Linked DNA regions of Homo sapiens: regions 2, 3 and 4 are each linked to region 1. The links are contacts of gene promoters, found by promoter capture Hi-C in human tissues and cell types (Jung and others, 2019). All regions are on one chromosome and are shown on one strand. Each heading gives the region's core, a stretch centred on a gene start or on the middle of the fragment in contact. The rest is flanking DNA. Distances are from core to core; before and after follow the strand shown.

Region 1 (3,037 bases), core at 270-2,769:
CTGCCATCCTTCTTGTGTCACCCCTGGACGTCTACCTGCCATCCTTCTTGCTGCAGAGCTCCCTCCTGCCTACCTCTGTCCTCAGCACAGAGACGAACCTGGCCAAGGCTCCCATTTCCCAGATGTCAACACCAGCCCAGTAAACCACAAATGCATCCTGTGTGCAGGCCTCCCCAGTCACTCTCAATCTATTAATCCAATCCATCCCAGCACCCCAGCCCAACATGCCACCCAAACCGCCTCATTCCAGGCCCCCTCCCCCACCCTTTCTTTCTTTGCCCAGAGGACACCTGGCTGCCCGAGTTTGTGTTCCCACAACTGCCCCCAGCATGGGCTTGCCTGGGCCAAGAGGGCCCTCCCGAGGACTGGCCAGAACAAGGAAAGGGACAGGAAAGGCCACATCTGGATCACAGCCCTGAAGCCCCCTCCCCCAAACCAGCCATCACTCTCTCAGAGCCCAACAGTAACCTCAGCCAGGGACGACTTCCTCACCCTCCTGACCCCATGCATGCCTTTGCCTGGCCAAGACAGCCCCACAGGAGCCCCTCTGAGGAAGGGGTCCTCTCCTCCTCTGACCCCCAGCCCTTCTGCAGCAGGCAGCCCTCTCCCATCCCCCTTTACCCAGGAGCCTCAGCCCAGGTCTGGCCTTAAGACTTTTAACCTTCACCACGTGGCCCCCAGGCCTCTCTGCTGGCCCCCCTGGCATCCCCATCCTGAAACCCACCTCCCTGAACCTGGAGCCAAGAGAGAAAGGGGGAAGAGCGGGCCATGGCTCCCTCCTCCAGGATGGAGAGGTCTTGGTAGCAGGGGAGGGCTGTGGAGGAAGGGATGGCAGTGGGTGGAAGCTGAAACTGGGTGTAGAAGGAATAAAAGGGATGGACTCTGAGAATTCTCCCACAGCCCAGCTCTTCCAGACTTAATATTTTGGACTACTATTCTTTGCTCCCCAGCCCCACCACTGCCTCCTCCTCAAGATCTTGGGCTCAGCAACTGAGGGGGGGCGGTGAAGAATTTTCACCCCATTGTAGGATGCAAGTCGGGAGGAAAGGCTCTAAAGAGAAGCAAACTTCTCTGTGGCCTCCTTCCACTTACAGCTCTGGGACTCCATTGGGGGGTGGGGGGGTGGGGCAGGGGATGTACTGACCCGGGACCCTGGGCCTGGGCCCTGTTGGTGGGGAAAGTCTTCCGGCTGAGGGTTGCTCAAGTCAGTCTGTCCTTCTGTAGGTCAGAGACAGAAAGGCCCCTCCTTCAAGACTGACACCCCCCGACCCCGGGCTCTCAGCAAAAGGATAAGGTGGCAGGGGCCGGTGGGGGGCGGGGGGTTTGAGGAAGAGTAACGTCGCAGCTAAAGCAGCCAGACCTACCCAGAGCATGCAGGACAGACAGATCCACGTCATCTTTGCTGGGTCCCGTCACTGAGGCACGCCCAGGGCCTGTGAAGAGCCCCTGAAGCTAGAGTCCCCGCGGCGCTGGCAGAAGGGCTCTCTGAGTCCGCGGCTGCTCCGGCTCCGCCAGCATCTGCTGGGCCTCTCGCCCTGCTGCCTCCAGCTCACCCTCCCTCCTCCTCCTCCTCCCCCCACTCCACCCCTCGTCCCAGCCTCCTCTCTCCTCCCTCCTCCCAGGCTCCACCGGTGGCCTTGAGGGTCAGGAACCCTGCTTTGCAGGGGGTGTAAAGGGGACAGGGAAAAGGGAAAGCTACCAGAGGCAGGGCCCCCCCAGGCCGTGCCCCCCACCCCCGGACACACAACCCCTGTGTGCCACCAAGGCTCCTCAGTCTTCTGATCTGGTGCTGGTAGGCCTGGAGTCCTCCCTCCTCACTGCAGACCCCCGCCCCTGGCAAACCAGCCTGGGGGCCTTCACTCCTGGAACCCTCCAGACCACTGATGGATGAACAGACAGCCCCAGGCCCACACAATCAGCACACTCAGGGTGCCTTGGCCCCTCCCCTTCTCTGAGTACCCGTGCCTGCCTTCCTGGCCTCCTCGGAACACACATGCATTTGCACACACAGACTGGGACAGACTCTGGTGCCCACGCGCCAAGCTCAGAGCCCAGGACAGGCCTTAACACAGAAGAAATAGGGCCCGAGACTGGGGAAGAATGGCCCTGCCCCCAGGCTGTGGGTTTCATTCCAATTTTTTTCCTATTTCTTTTTTTTTCCCCCTTCTTTCTTTCTTTCCTGCAAACATCTGTCCCAGCCTTTCCTGCCCTTCTGAAAGGGAGCCCCGCTCCAGGCTCCCGCGAGAGTGTGTTTTTCTTGACTGTACCCGGGGCCAACATTTGGTTTGCATTTCCCCACTTCCTCCCCCTCCTCCCCTCTCCCCCTCCCTGGGCCCAGTTCTCCCCTCCCACCATTCCACAGGCCTATTTCTTCCCCTCAGTGTCCCCTGCCCACCAGCCCTCCCCTCCCCTCGCCCCCACCTCTGCCCAGGGACAATTGTTGGGGGTCTAGAGGGTGGAAAGGAGGCTGGGTCAAAACCCAAAAGTATTCCCACGGAGCACTAAGGGGGAATCCAGCAAAGTCTGCCCCAGGCCTTCATTGTCTGGAACCACCACGTTCCCCTCCAAAAAAAACCCTTCCTCTTTGAGCTCTGGCCTTGGCTGGACCAACTGAGGGTGGGTGGGGGCCAGTGAATCACCCGCTCTGTTCTTTGGAGCTGTCCAGGAGAAGGAGGGAGGGCTCAGCCCCACACCCTCCTGTGGACACACACACACACAAGGACACAGTCCAACTCACGTCAACACATAAGAGCCCTCCCAGAGTAGGCACTTGGAGACCTCGTTCCTAGACTGAGTCACTTAGCAAGAAAAGTTCTCTTGCCTGGCCTCCTATGCACACTGTGCTATACATGCCCTGGGGCCACATGCACGAAGGGTTACAGATCCCCTGCCTCCCCCCCCCACTCACCCAAGGCCATGCCATGCCGCTGTCTGTCAGCACCACATACCGTGCAACTACCAGCCTCCTCTTTCACAGGGATCTGCCCAGCCACTTGTGCCAACTCCCAGCCCAGGGACCACCCAAGACATCTACCTG
Region 2 (3,037 bases), core at 276-2,775, 91 kb before region 1:
GGCCCTCTCCAGCCCACCCTGCCTCACTGTGACCCTCTTGCCCCAACCCTCCTGGGTCTGGCATGGTGCACACAAGGGAGCTGAAGTCAATATTAGAAACCACAGGCCTCAGCAGTGCAAGAGAAACTTTCTCCTCCTGCCAGTGATCATCTGAGCACCATCCCCTTTGCCCCCACCCCTTCCCCATGCCAGCTGGAGGCCGGCCACAGGGTGACGCTTGCCAGAGTTCAGATGCCTTCAGCTTACTGGTTGAGATGCTTTCTGAGGAGCTAAAAATTTCCAAGTCCCCACCCCCTGCACCATCTAAACATCCCAGTTGTCCTGCAGTGTTTGCAAACACAGCCAGCATGCATGCTGCCCGACCCTCCTCTGCCCTCCAACCCAACTCTCCCAGGATTCAAGTCCTATCTCTCTGTTTCCCAACACTTCCAGCCTTGGGGCTACTGGGAAGGAAAAAGGCATGGGACTGGTAACAGGAGGGCAGGATCCCCTGAGGCTGCCACTGCCCCAGGCCCTGCAGGGAGGCCGGGGCCAGTGGGAAGCCCTACCATTGACACTGCCTAATGAGTCCAGCTGGCACTCCCGGGACCCTCTGGAACCAAAGCCCCTGACCTTCATCTTCACTCCATTCCTGGCCAGGATGTTTCTACAGCTACCACATACACATACACACACACACACACACACACACACACACACACACACACACACACACAACCATCCTTGCATGCCACTCCTGGGGACATCTGCTCTGAGAGGGACTTAAGACATCATCTCCTCCATCCCCCTGTTTCACACATGGGGAAATTGAGGTCCAGGGAGGTCTGATCTGCCCAGCCTTTCATGGTGAGGTTTGTGGCATGGCTGGAGCTGGTTCCCAGGTTTGTAAAGCCCACTGCCAGGCTCATCTCACTGCCCTCACCCTTGGCCCCCAGCCATCCTGCTGGCAGGGTGAGCTGGTGCCTCCCTGCAGGCTCTTCTTTTCCTTCCTCCTCAAGTCAGCTGCAAAGGGATGAAGTGGGTGGAGGCCAAACACAGACAGACCCCTATGTCTGTCTCCACCCACTGCCCAGTCCCAGGACAAAGCCTGGAGCTTAAGGTCCCCAGGCTTTCCAAAGTGAGAGCAGCTGACTCACTGTTCCACCAGGGGTCTTCCAGAGTCCCCCCTTACCTCCCAGGAGGGACAACTCAGAATCCAGCTTAGAAGCAGGTGGCAGGGTTTGAACCTATCACTACCTGAAAACCAAGCCCTGCTCTTAGCGGGCTGCTCTGCTCTAGAGTCCCAAAACCAGCAGTTAGAGCAAAGCAAGGTGGGGACTAGGGCGAATGTTGGGGCACAACATTTAAGAAGGCATTGCTCTCACTCTGAGGTCCTGCGAGTGCACTTGCATAATCCTGAGAGTGATGACTCCTCAGATCTTGCACCCTAGAGGCCTCACTCTCTGGCCCTCATCCTGGCCCTGGCCCTGAGATGCCTTTTCATAAACTTATTGCAAGAATTACAACTATTCATTTAGGGATGGCAATGCCCGGAACACAGTACTGGGCTCTTTGCTTTCCTGATCACCAGTCCTCACAACCACCCTGGGAGGCGAGCATTACCGCAGGGTACAGTTTAGGAAACTGAGGGCCTGGGAGATGTAGTGACTCACCCAAGGTTCCACAGCCAGTCGGTAGGAGAGCTGCTGTTTGAACCTTGCTCCTCACCTCCCCATCATGCTATCTCCCCTCTCCCTGGCAATGATCTCCAGGCAGTTCCTCTGATAACTGCCTTCCTGTGGGGAACAAGCTTTCTGAAAATTGAAGGCCAGTTATAGCAGGACTTCTGTCCAGGTCCTCAGTAGGAAGACACTTCTTAACCATACTTCCACAGAAAGAATAGGAACTGGGCTGCATAGGAAAGACTGAGATCAGACAACAGAGAGAACTTCCTGAATTCGAGGGGTCGGGAACCACAGGGTGGATAAGGGAAGCTCCACATCCTTTCCTCAATTTTTTTCCAAAAAAAGACACATATGCCCTCTCCACACATGCCTTTACCCTCCCCCACTGCATGGGCCCAAGGTGGGGCCAGGAGGGGCCTTTCTGCTGGAAGGTTGGGGGGTGGCTGCCAGGACGGCCTAGAGGCTCACGCAGGAGGACAGGTTAGTGGCCTGCAAGGAGGGTGGGCTGGGAAAAATGTATCTGTGCTGCTGTTTTAGAGGAAGGAAACAACAGGGTGGGGGAGGTTCCCATGCCTGAGCCCAGGGCCGAGGGGAAGGGGATTGGGGAGGAGGGTGCGCAGAATGCGGGCTCAGCCTCCGGAGGAACATTCCGTCCGGAAATTCCTTACACCCTGCCCCTTTCCACCCTCCAACTCTCCCGACTCTTGCCCCCTGGGAGGCCTGGAATCTGGGGGGCTTGGGGGCCAAAAAGACCACCCCATGACCAGATCTACTGCCATGGCAATGAACTGCGAGGTCACCATCGCACTGCCTATCAAGAGGGGAAGGAACTGGGAGCTGGCAGGGAGGGCTAGCGAGGGCTGGAATGGCCTCAGACCCAGGACCCAGAGAAAGTTATTCTAGGCTCACTTGTTTCAAAAATAGAATCATAAGCAAATGCAAGGAGGGGGCTAAAAACAGAAGGGAAGGGCAGGGAAACAGAGTTTATGGGGCACTTGGAGCATGGCAGGCTGTGAGATGGCACGTTAGAGGTGCGGCCCCATTTAATCGTCCCCACATACAGACCTATGAGAGCCCTCTATCAACAGCCTAATCACGAAAACAAGGCAGCGGCAGCGGCAGAAGGCAGCAAAGGGAGAGAGCGCTTTCTCCGTGCCCCGTGCCTCCCAAGGCATCACCTCCCTTCACTGTCATAAGCAAGGGCTCTAGAAGGAGCACTTTGAACACCTTTCTGCAAATGAGGAGACGGAGTTTCCAGGGAGGGTGGCCGCTCAATGTGAGATCAGATCTGCGCCTCCGAGTCTAAGACCTCTGAGGTCTGCACCTCCCAGAGCCCTGTGCTCTCCCCTCGCTCAGTCTTGAGGAAGTGGGAG
Region 3 (3,037 bases), core at 350-2,849, 74 kb after region 1:
AAAGCATGGCGCTCAGATCACCTGGGTGTTGCTAAAAGTCAGATTTGGGGTTTGATAAATCAAAGCTTCCAGTGAGAGGACCTGGTACCTATCTATTTAGCAAGCTGATTAGATTAGCACTGTGGCCTAATCTAATGGCACCAGGTCAGTGAATTGGTGCTGAGAGGGATGACTGGTTTTGGGTCCTCTCCACAGATCCCAGCCGCATATGGAGGGCCTGAAAATGTCCAGATTGAGGACTCACACACCAGTCAAGCCATCTGTCTGCAAGATGCACCCAGTGGACAGCAGCTGGCAGGGCTTCCCAGGTCCCAGCAACAAAGGCATCTTCCTTTCTTTTTGGAAAAGAAGGGGGAAAGTTCCAGGAAACATAGGTACCCCCAGAGCATGTGGGAGCCAGAAGGGAAGGAGCTTCAGCTAGACCAGGAGGAAAGAGCCCCATGGATTGAGATCTTCCTGGGGAACTCAACACCCAGCACCCAGGGACAGGGGAAGGGGGCTATGGGCACTCAGAAGGAGGTGATAGGGATGGAGGCTGAGGTCACAGGGGTTCTGCTGGTTGCAGAGGGTCAGAGAACAACAGAGGGGACTCACAAAAAGGAAGCAGAGTGGAGTCACGTCCAGAGGCTGCTGATGCCCAGCCCCAGAGGGGCTGTAGAGGGAGCAGTATCAGGGAGCAGGCAGGGGTCGGGGGGCTCTAGCATCCTGGGGGAGCCCTGGGTCCTTCAGGGACACGCAACAAAGGAAGACTCTACCGTGGAGAATCCACAAGTGCAAACAGAAGTGACCCTTGTGGCCAGAAGGGAGGAGCAAGCCGAGGTGTCCCTGCAGGACGAGATCAAGGTGAGAACAGTTGAGCTCCATACCTGGTTATTTGCCCCTGTCTGACCTGGCCCACAGATGAGGGTCTGCAATGGTAGCCTGGGACCATTCCCTCCCACGGGTCAATTTTTATTGGCCCACTCAGGATTATTATTTGGGGATGCCTTTGAAAGCCATACATTCTTCAGGTCCCCACAGTCCCCGCCTCTCCCTATTGCCCCACGCTAGACCCACTTTATTCGGCAATACTTCTTGCCCAGCCCCAGTAGGCTTTGGAGTTTGAGATCCCTTCCCAGCAGTTCTTCCAGGCAGTCACTTCCTCTCTCCAGTTCCATATCCTCATGATGGTAAGTCTCTTCCCGAAATCTAAGTTCTACTGTTGCAGAGCCCACCTAGTTGCTCCTGTGGTGGATGCTTCTCCTGGAGGTCACTCAAGATTGTCACCAAGCCTCCCTTCGGCCTCCACCCAGGAACTTGCAAGTTTCTGAGTTTACAACTTCCACCCTTCAGTGAAGGAAGAAACCGTGGCCCAGGCACACCCAGAAGCAGGGCCTAGGACAGAGCCAGGCATCACAGCTCCCAGCACTGTCCCCAGCCCTGCCAGGGCATGGCCTGGGGTCTCTCGGGAATGTTGTTCAGGTCAGCCCCAGCACTGGGGTCTCTGCCCTTCTCCTTCAGCCTCCTTCTCCCCTCCTTCCACCCCACAGAGCCTCAGACTTGGGCTCCGGAAGGCTGAGGAGCAGGCCCAGCGCCAGGAGCAGCTGCTGAGGGAGCAGGAGGGGGAGCTGCAGGCACTTCGGGAGCAGCTCAGCAGGTAACCTTGGCAACCCACAGCACAGGGCACCTGGAAGTGCTCCCTAGGTCCTGCTGTCAATCACGGTCAAGCCAGTGAGGTCTTGTGAGAACCTCCCATGCACCAGGCCCTGGACTGGGCACACCTTTGGGATCTGAGGCCTGCAGGGCATTGCTCCTGATCCCAGGGCTCCACCCTCCCTCCTCTGTGCATCCCTTTCTCGTAGGTCTCCCAGAGCAGGAGCAGCCCCAGGAAAGGCCCCGCCTCCTGGCCTGCTTCCTTCCCACCCTCACCCCTGCCTCCCTCTGCTGCCTCCCCTGGGCAGCTCCTCTCTCTTTTTCACCCTCTCTGCCTCCCTACTCCACTGGACTTCTTTCCCCCATCTCTTTCTGTCTCCCTTTTTTACTCAGTTTCTTTGTGTCTCATTTGCTTCTTCCTGTTATGCCACCTCTCACCCTCTCATAATCACAGCTATCATTTACTAAGCATTTACTACGTCCCAGGCACTGCTGTCGGTGCTTCTGCGTAACACCCTTATGAGATGAGTTCTATAGAACCCCCATTTTATAGAGGAGGAAGCTGAGGCTCAAAGATGCTGCACAATTCACCCACCATTGGCTAGTTAGCGGGGGAGCTGAGATTCAAGGCCTGCAGCTGACTCCAGAACCAGTGGGCTCAGACGCCCCATTCAGGCAGCATGTCGAGTGCCTGCACTTCAGTCTCTCCGTTTCTCCTGCTCAGTGTCTCTCACCATCCAGTGTCTTCATCTTCCGTCATCACATTGACCTCAGGGGCCCACAGCACGCTGTCTGTCTCTACCATCCCCCCTCAGTCCTCAGTCTCTCAGGTCTCAGTTTCTCTCTCTCTCTCTCTCTTTCTTTTTGTAGAGACGAGGTCTCACTACATGGTGCAGACTGGTCTCAAATTCCTAGGCTCAAGCTTCAGCCTTCCAAAGTGCTAGGGTTGCAGGCATGAGCCACCACACCCAGCCCATAATTTATTTTTTAAAGTCTCTTCTCACTGCAGAGATCTTCCGTGGCCTGACTCAGCCTCTCTGTGTCTCTCTCCTGTGGTCTCCGGGTACGTCAGTCTGCCCACCTGCCCCTGTCTCTCTCTCCCACATGGCTAACACCTGCCCCAGGTCCAACAGACACCAGTCGGACCCCAGCAGAGCCTGAGTAGCTGTGATTCAGCCTGAATCACTAGGAAGCCTTCTGGCTGTCTGCTTCGCAGGTGAGAGAGGCCCAGGAGCCCAGAAACCAACCCAAAAGGACCCCCAGGCTCCTCCCACTCCACACTCAGCTGAGCACACAGTGTGGTCGCAAAGGTTTCCACGATTCAGGGCAAAATGAACATGGGGGTTCTGGCCACACAAGAGTCTTCAAGGGTTCAAGACAGTCTGGGAGGAGCAGCTGGGAGGTT
Region 4 (3,037 bases), core at 380-2,879, 68 kb before region 1:
ATGGCCCCAAGCACAGCCAATTCCAGGAAGCCAGAAGGGGAAAGGAGCCCATATGTACAGACTGGAACAGGGGGAGCATGAGCCAGCAGAGATGGGGGGAACAAGAGCAGCCCAGGGCCCCTGAAGCACACCCAGACCTCCCAGCTCCTTTCAAAGTGCCCACTGCAGCCTTGGCAAGCAGCAAATTCTCCTCACACTTGCCTGTCCCATCTGAGCCCCACCCATCCTTCTGGAAGAGCAGGTGAAAGGATAAGGCACACGGGCAGAAGCTGGGTGGGAGGTGTCAGAAATGGAAGAGCAGGTGCACAAACAATAGGGTGGAGTAGATAGGAGGATACGCAGCCTGAACATTATGGGGTGGAAGCACAGGTAGCTGGAATTTTAGGGACAGAGGTGGTGAGGAAGGGCAAAACAGAGTTTAGGGCTCGGGACAACCATATTATTTGAACACATACAAAGAACATGTACTTCATACAGATTATCCCATTTAATCCTTCCAACAAGAGATTCAACAAGCAGTAGCCTCTTTTCACATATGAGGCTACTGAACCTTACAGCGGAGAAATGTGTTGGCCAAGGTCACACAGCGATGAGTGGTTGAGCTGGGACTCAAACCCAGGACAGCCAGACTGCAAATTCTACACTCCTTGAGGCAAGCCAAGTCACCTGGATGCTTGGAAGACAAGACAGAGCATCGATGGAGCTGAGGGGGTGTGAAGGCATAGGTGATGGGAGGGGCTGATCCAGAGAAGCACAGAGAGGCAGAGGGGATGAGGTGTGGCACCCTGCTGGCCGGGACCCCCAGCTCCTAAGGAGGACAGGGAGGGAGGAGCTCAGGCTGCTGTGATTCAGTGGCTGGGCCTCCGGGGAGAATTTCCGGAGCCCCAGACAGCTCTGTGCAGTCTAGGAGCCACCTACCCAGTGGAGACACTGAGCCATTACTCACAACTGTTACTCACTTTGCCTCTGCACCCCCATCCCCAGCACATCACTTCCTCCCACTCTGTTCCCTTTGGGTGGCCAAGGCAGGCAGCAGATCTTCCCCAGTCCCCTCCTTTGCTTCATTGGCTCCAATCCTGCCAAGCGTATCCCCACCTGAGTCACTGGGACAGAGACGGGAGATTCTGGCCAGCCCAACCCTGACAGCTGTTGCCCTCTGCTCTGTTCCAAGAAATCAAGCTGCCTGGAGGAGTGGTCACTGGGCAAAGAACGTTCCAATTCCAGTGCTGGAAGGACCTCCCCAGCATTTCAGATGGCATCCCAGCAGATGCCTGAAGAGCCAACAGGATCCCACCTCGATGCTGGACAGCTCTGCCAAAGGCCCCAAGACTAGGAGCCTCTCTGTTCAGAAAGATCCATGCACTTACAGAATTTCAGCACTGCTGAAAAGAGAGAACGCCCCTAACTCGAACTTCTCATTTCGCAATTGAGGAAACCAAAGCCCAAAAAGTGGAAGCAATTTGCCTGAAGTCACACAGTGCCAAAAGGGACTAGCAGGTCACCTGACGCCCCTGCCACAGGTCCTTCCGCGGCACTACACAGACCTCTCTCTCTGCCCCAAGTCAGAGCAGGCCCCTGAAGTTGACTCTGTCACCCTCCTGTTGCAAAGCAGTGCTGAAGACGGGAGATCTGAAGGCAGGGTGAGGAGGGGGAGGAAGGAGTTGCAGCCAGACAGCGGTTACTGGGGAGGAATCACTTTCCAACAGTGAAGGGGCACTGGACTCCAGGCCACCTACTCAGAACAGTCTGCCCAGGAGGCAGGGAGATGGACTGCAGGCCCTCCGGAGGCTCTGGAGCTCAAGGGCCAGGCCCTCTGGCAGGAGATGATGGGAGGAATTCTTAGGGTCCCAGCTGGGAACTTGGGAGAGTCATGGCCTCCTCTCCAATCACCTCTCCTCCCCCAGCCCCCACCCCTCACCCTGGCTCGCCTCTGCTCTCCCAGGGCTCCAGCCTGGAATCCAGACCTGACCACTGCCTCCACTCCCACGCTTGGCCTAGCTCAGCCGGCCACAGCAGAGGCAGCCACATGTGTGGTGGTGGAAGCAGTTCGTGAGCCACCGAATTCCTTCTAAGCCTCCAGAGGAGCCTCATCTATCTCTTGTGCTCTCCCCTCCCACTCTGGGCAGTTGCACTCATCCCAGCCAAGAAACCCCTGCTGCCAGCCCCACTCTCTCCCACTGTATCAATAATAGTAATAACCATAACAAAAACAGCAATAACAATCACCAAGGTTTATGCAGAACAGCCTGCATGCCAGACCCGCTCTATTTGTTTCCTGCATTTTACAGGTGAGCAAAGGGAAGCACTGGCAGGTCAGGTAAGTTGTTCATAGTCATATAGCCTGCAAGAGATGGGGTCAGGATTCACATGCAGACCGTGTGGCTGCAGACACTGTGAAGGTGACCCCCACATCACACTGCCTCATGAGAGGTCATTGCTCTAGGAAATAAACGCTGCTGAAATTCCCTCTTCTTCATCAACACACAGTCCCTGACCACCTGCGACATGCCAGGCACCTGGCCTTTGAGACACTCAACATTCCATCTAGCTCTGGACAGGCAGCCACTCTCTGCACTCACCAGGCCACGTAGAGCCAGGCTGGGCATGGCTGCCTCCGAGCAATCAGGCTCCTCCACCCTGACCAGGGAACACTCCTGTTCGTTCATTCATTCATTCATTCAACAAACAGTAAGGGGCTACTGTGTTCCAGGTCAGATGGTAAAGGAGGCCCCCAAAGGATCCTCTCGGTGCCTTAAAAATATAAGCTGCCTACAGTCTACCCTCACTCCTGCCTGCTGCAGTTCATCCATCCCAGGGCTGCGTGTGAAGACTTGCCAAGGATGGCTCTCTCCTGGCCTGAAAGATCTCCCAGGAAGGAGATTTCAGGGGCCTCCTTGGCCTCCCAATCCAGGAGGGGAGGATGGTATGCTGGAAGGAAGCCCAGAGGGATCAGGGAGATGAAGTGACTTGGGAGAGGATTTTCCAGCCCCAGGGCTGAGGAATTTGAACATAGGATTCCAGGAACCCAGGCCCTGGC

Evidence for each region. The method cuts DNA at HindIII sites, captures the fragments that hold promoters and counts their contacts. A contact is called where the count stands out against the background at its distance.
Region 2: a fragment that was not itself captured here is called in contact with the fragment with the promoter of TNS1 in region 1 in 2 of the 25 tissues and cell types used here (adrenal gland and pancreas).
Region 3: a contact is called between a fragment that was not itself captured here and the fragment with the promoter of TNS1 in region 1, in 2 of the 25 tissues and cell types used here (bladder and spleen).
Region 4: a contact is called between a fragment that was not itself captured here and the fragment with the promoter of TNS1 in region 1, in 2 of the 25 tissues and cell types used here (IMR-90 fibroblasts and ovary).

The regions. Positions count from the first base shown.
Region 1 is chr2:218,001,476-218,004,512 of GRCh38, forward strand. It overlaps TNS1 (tensin 1), which reads right to left and starts at 1,520. Exons shown (of 33, transcript NM_001387777.1): 1 at 1,365-1,520. The coding sequence starts at 1,397. RefSeq lists enhancers at 1-464, 465-965, 2,706-2,805. The HindIII fragment of the contact is 30,357 bases long and covers 1-3,037 here.
Region 2 is chr2:217,910,047-217,913,083 of GRCh38, forward strand. All of the region lies in intron 4 of TNS1 (tensin 1), which reads right to left. Among named protein-coding and RNA genes, the nearest start is that of MIR6809, 11 kb to the left of the region's middle. The HindIII fragment of the contact is 9,234 bases long and covers 1-3,037 here.
Region 3 is chr2:218,074,898-218,077,934 of GRCh38, forward strand. RUFY4 (RUN and FYVE domain containing 4) reads left to right here. Exons shown (of 13, transcript NM_198483.4): 9 at 196-843; 10 at 1,530-1,636. Among named protein-coding and RNA genes, the nearest start is that of RUFY4, 7.2 kb to the left of the region's middle. RefSeq lists an enhancer at 1,131-1,632. The HindIII fragment of the contact is 3,853 bases long and covers 1-3,037 here.
Region 4 is chr2:217,933,534-217,936,570 of GRCh38, forward strand. The region is part of intron 3 of TNS1 (tensin 1); the gene reads right to left. Among named protein-coding and RNA genes, the nearest start is that of MIR6809, 34 kb to the left of the region's middle. RefSeq lists enhancers at 1-270, 940-1,448, 1,449-1,958, 2,915-3,037. The HindIII fragment of the contact is 4,943 bases long and covers 1-3,037 here.